Regions from separate parts of the Homo sapiens genome. Here region 1 is linked to region 2. The links are contacts of gene promoters, found by promoter capture Hi-C in blood cells and fetal thymus (Javierre and others, 2016). All regions are on one chromosome and are shown on one strand. The core of a region is centred on a gene start or on the middle of the fragment in contact, and the rest is flanking DNA. Distances in the headings are between cores, read along the strand shown.

Evidence for each region. Contacts are between HindIII fragments. The CHiCAGO score rates a contact against its expected background, and 5 or more counts as called.
Region 1: a contact is called between a fragment that was not itself captured here and the fragment with the promoter of ADAM7 in region 2, in 2 of 17 cell types (megakaryocytes and monocytes). The highest score is 5.7, in megakaryocytes.

Annotation. Positions count from the first base shown.
Region 1 is chr8:24,244,541-24,247,240 of GRCh38, reverse strand. No RefSeq gene overlaps it. Among named protein-coding and RNA genes, the nearest start is that of ADAM28, 48 kb to the left of the region's middle. The HindIII fragment of the contact is 768 bases long and covers 1,007-1,774 here.
Region 2 is chr8:24,439,703-24,442,402 of GRCh38, reverse strand. ADAM7 (ADAM metallopeptidase domain 7) reads right to left here and starts at 1,377. Exons shown (of 22, transcript NM_003817.4): 1 at 1,243-1,377. The coding sequence starts at 1,294. All of the region lies in intron 1 of ADAM7-AS1 (ADAM7, ADAMDEC1 and ADAM28 antisense RNA 1), which reads left to right. The HindIII fragment of the contact is 2,181 bases long and covers 1-2,063 here.

The DNA of each region.
Region 1 (2,700 bases), core at 141-2,640, 200 kb after region 2:
CCTGCGTGGGATTGCACAACTGGTTGAGCCAGATTACTGATCTGGTTGGCGCCAGCTGTTGCATCAGAACTAAGGGTCTAAAAAACATCTCAAGCATCAATCTTAGGATTTACCATTGTGATGCTATCCCTAGGAGCAACTGGGAACGTTTGGAATACTGTGGCCTCTAGCTTCATAACTCCTAAATCATAATTTCTAATCTTGTGGCTAATATGTTAGTTTTACAAGGCAGTCTGGTCCCCAGGCTAGAAGGGGGCTTGTTTCCGGAAAGGGCTGTTATTATCTTTGTTTCAAAGTTAAGCTGTAAACTAAGTTCCTCCCAAAGTTAGTTTAGCCTGTGCCTAGGAATGAACAAGTGCAGCTTGGAGGTTAGAAGCAAAATGGAGTCAGGGGGCCAAATCCCTTTCACTGCCATAATTTTCTCACTGTTATAATTTTTGCAAAGGTGGTTTCAGGTATGCCATGCATGTCAGGTGAAAATAAATTCTTTAAATCTCTAAACTCTGAAATGTTATTGACAAGGGGTTATCCCTGCCAAGACAGCTGGAGCCATTCTACTCAAAAAGTAGGAGGATTGTATTTAAGGTTCTTGCTTTCAGATTAAATGCTGTGCAAAGCCTTAGGGCTTAACTCATTCTTACCTCTGATTAAAATTTGTTTTCAATAGAGCACTCATTACATTTGTATTGAGGTAAGAAGAATGAGGCAAAGAAGAAATAACAGTAAATTGAAGTCAAACTATTTAAATTTCTACACTTTTTAATTCTCATGTAGTTACTTAACCTCTCTGTCACCTCAATTGTCTGTAAAATCAACAGAATAATGTCTGTTTCACCTAAGATCACAGTAAAGATTGCAGTAAATAGTAAATGTGTAAAAATGGTTGAAAACTGGGATAAAATGCAAATAGGCAGATGTGAAAGAGGTCTTGAAATGATAATAAGAGAAGCACATGAAAATGACTTTCAAATTTATGTTTCTTTGGATAGTGACTGGTTTCTAAGCTTCATCTGGACCATGGCATGTCCTTAAAACCAATTAATTCCTTGAAATCTAATTCCCAATATGATGGAATTTAGAGGTGGGGCTTTTGAGAGGTAATAGATCATGAGGGTAGAGCTTCCATGAATGGGATTAGTGCCCTTATAAGAAGAGGCCAGAAAGCTAGTTCACTTCTTTTCTGCTATATGCAGACACAAAGAGATGTCAGCTGTTTACAACCTGGAAGAGAGCTGTCACCAAAACCCAGCCATGCTGGCACCATAATCTTGGACTTCCAGCCTCCAGAACCATGAAAAATAAGTTTCTTTTGTTGGTAAGCCATCTAGTTTATGATATTTGGTTGTAGCAGCCCAACCTGACTGAAACATCATTCTTCATCGTCCATTAACAGGTACAATATTTTATAGGGCCACTGGTATTAAATCATTCATTCAATAGTGTGAGGCATACAGCTAGCCACCAGGAATACAGAGAGGTAAAATATCCTTACCAGGAAAGTATGTGGGAATTCTTTGCGCTGTCTTTGCACCTACTCTGTGAATTCATCTAAAATTTAAAAAATTAAATCTCCATTAGTTCTATACTCTGTGTTATGACTGGTTAAAACAATTATCTTCCATAGACCATTATAACTCAATTTGGAGAATGATGAGAATGTGTAAGTAAAAAATGTTGAAAGGTCAAAATAAATATCCTCACAGGGGCTCATGATGTAACTACAGAAACAGCTATAGAAACAGCTTATGATGTAGCTACAGAAAGAGGACAAGCTTACTGGAGTTGAAATAGAAACACTCCTAAGATCAATGGGCAGCACTTTTAAAGTACCACTGTTTATTCAGTAACATTTTTTACTAAAAATATTTGAAATCCCCAAATGACAAGCTACCCATTCTGTTGAGGAGGTAAAGACAGATGCTATGGCCTTGGGTCCTTAGCATCAGCTGGGAAATGCTCTTTGTGATGGGAAGTGACTCAGGTCCATCACAGCAACCGGGAGGCTGACAGGCTGGCTGTGATTGTGCAGAAGAGCCAACTTTTTGCAAGCGAACGTCAGATCTTCAGGCTCCTTCTCTACGTATTGCTGCCACCTAGTGATCAAATATTTTTGTGAAACACCAAAATAAGAGAAATGTAAGCACTCTCAGATTGCTTTTTTAGTTTAATGTTTATGTGAGCAATCTAAAGTGCTCAATAGGAATGCAAAAATTCATAAAGTTGAGTAACAATTTCATATTCATCATATATCTGGGTTCTTTGGAAGATGTATAAACTCTATTCCTTAAAAAAGTTTACAATCTACTGATTGACAAAATTGAAAGTAGTACAATATAGTATGAGTGGGACAAGATCCTTATACTTCTGCTCCTACTTTGGTGGTTTTGATATCAATACATGTATTAGTCCATTTTCATGCTGCTGATCAAGACATAACTGAGACTTGGCAATTTACAAAAGAAAGTGGTTTAAGGGAGTACTCACAATTCCACATGGCTGATGAAGCCTCACAATCATGGCAGAAGGCAAGAAGGAGCAAGTCACATCTTACACGGATGGCGACAGGCAAAGAGAGAGCTTTTGTAGGGAAACTCTCATTTTTAAAACCATCAGATCTCATAAGACTTATTCACTAGCAGGAGAACAGCACAGGAAAGTCCCGCCCCCCAAGATTCAATTACCTCCCACCAGGTCACTCCC
Region 2 (2,700 bases), core at 128-2,627:
TTGTTCTAATACAGTTCATTTGCCCCCAGTTAGCAGCCATGGACAGCAACACTATGAAATGTTATTCCCACTTTACTGGCAAGGAAATTGACACTGATATTTACAAATCAGGAGAATATAAGGAAACTTGGAAAGGAGCCAAAGAAATCAGTGTCCCTCCATTTCCTCCATATTTTCGCCATGTTCTGCAGCTGTAATTTTATTTTTTGTTTCATTTATTTATTTTTTTGAGACAGAGTCTCGCTCTGTCAGCCAGGCTGGAGTGTAGTGGCGTGATCTCGGCTCACTGCAACCTCCGCCTCCCCGGTTCAAGCGATTCTTCCACCTCAGCCTCCCAAGTAGCTGGGATTACAAGTGCACACCACCATGCCTGGCTAATTTTTGTATTTTTAGTAGAGACGGGGTTTCACCATGTTGGCCAGGCTAGTCTCAAACTCCTGACCTCAGGTGATCCACCTGCCTCAGCCTCCCAAAGTGCTGGGATTACAGGCATGAGCCACCATGTCTGGCCTGCAGTTGTCGTTTTGTTATCCTCATGCCAACCTCTGGATTTTGTCTCCTGTCAAAGCCTGCACTGTTGTCCTGTTTGAATGTAAATTACTGAATTTGGTCTTCCAGGGATGTTTGCATTTAAAGTCTTACCTTTCGTAGTTAAGTATAAGACCTTTACCTGTTAAAGAATTTTGGGTAGCCCTGCATCAGTGCCAACCATAATCTTCTATTCATGTCCTATCACCTTGATAGTCATCTGTGAGATGAGCCCTGCTTAATTAAGGTGTGATACTTAAAGAGCAATAAAAAGGAGAGGGCATGGGGTTTCTGGAATATGCTCTGATTTGAATCAAGCCTTTACCAATTTATTGTGTGGCCAGCAGTAGCATATTTAATTTCTCTGATCTGTAAATAGTCTCATTTTCCTTATCTGTAAAGTGGAGATATTAATTTCAAATTTTAAACACTTTAACATACAAAGCAGCTAATGGCCAGCACAGTGCCTGCCATGCTGCAGATATGCAGTACTTGTCCACTCCTTTCTCCTCCTCACTGTGGGTCAGAATGTTCAAGAGTGATATGGCATTACACAGATGCATGGAGTCTCATGATTAGCTGTAATCTAGTCGAAGCTCTCAGAAAAATCATCAACGTTTAATGTTTTTATCACTTACAGTTTAAAGTTTGTGACTAAAGAGACACAACCTCACAGCATAATAAGAAAGTCCTGATAAAAAGAGCAAGACATACCTTTAACCTGAGGAATGAGTAAAATCATCAAGAATATACACCCGGGAAGCATTCTGAGTGATTCTGGTAGAGGAGAGCAGAAGTGCTTGAGAAAAGGAGTTCACCTTTCTTCCTCCTCACTTCCACTGCAGGGATGAAGCACCTCACAGATAGGTGGGCAGTTTTGATCCACAACAAGGAAGTGTTCCTTGAGGGAGTTACACAACTTGCTAGGTGCTTGAGGCTAAAACCTGGAGGTTGAACATCATGTTCTAATTAAAGACAACTACCGAGGTGGTGGTGGTGAAGGTTGGCTGGACATAGATTCCTACGTCATGTCTAATATAAATTTGATTCCAGATATCTGAAAACTTCAAAAGTGGAAAAAAATCAAGAATGTCTTAGGAAAAAAATGTTGAAAAATATTTATATATGCTTTGGTTGAAGATGGTTAAATTCTTTCTATGCAGAGTATGCCATATAAAAACTAAAAGGAACATTTGTTAAATGAGAAATATTGAAAATTTATATGGCATAAATCACATATTAAAATTAAAATATCCAAACTACAGAAATGTATGTAATAAATAAATAAAAGGTGGGAGTAAGTGTCCATATAATATAGAGCCCTTTCAAAGCAATACAAAAAAGAATACCAATGGACAGATGTGCAAAGGGCCTCGACAATTCCATCTGTATGTCTGTGTTCTCTTGTTATGTTAGTAGAGTTATCCCATGGCCAATAGAATCCTTTTATCTTCATTTGGGATTCTATTTCTCACCCGCATCTATATGTCTCTAATATTTCCACAAACTGAACGAATCTATGTCAATTGGAAGCTTCCTTTTGATATTTAGACCCTCTGCTCCAAGGACGACTTTTTCTACAAGGAAACATAAGAGGAAAAATCCATCTGACATTAATATTCATCCATTGTGGTTGAAAAACAGAATTGTCCTCATACAGTTCACTTGCTCCCAGTTAGCAGCCATGTATAGCAGCATTATAAAATATAATCCCCACTTTGCAGGTGGGGAAATTGACACTGATATTTACAAATTGGGAAAACATAAGCAAACTTGGAAAGGAGGCAGAGAAATCGGAGTCCCTTGGCTTAAAACGGGGGTACCATTTTAAGTCAAGTCAAAAGTCTCTCCTTTTTGAAAAATTCTCTCTATTCTATATCTCATATACTCTTACTATCACTTTTTCTCCCATTTCCTTTACAGCTAAATTTCTAACACAGTATTACCTGGACTTCTTGCAATTTTCTTACCTCAAACTTATCCTACCACATCCCAGTTCTAGCATCTGCCTTTATTATTCTACTGAAATGGCCAATATCTCCAGTGATTTTACCATTTCTATATCCAAGAGATATTTTGTTTCCTCATCTCATTTGCCCTTTTAACAATTTTTAGCACTGTTGACCACATCCTTCCCCTTGAAATATACTATTTAGCTCCCTTGCCACAATA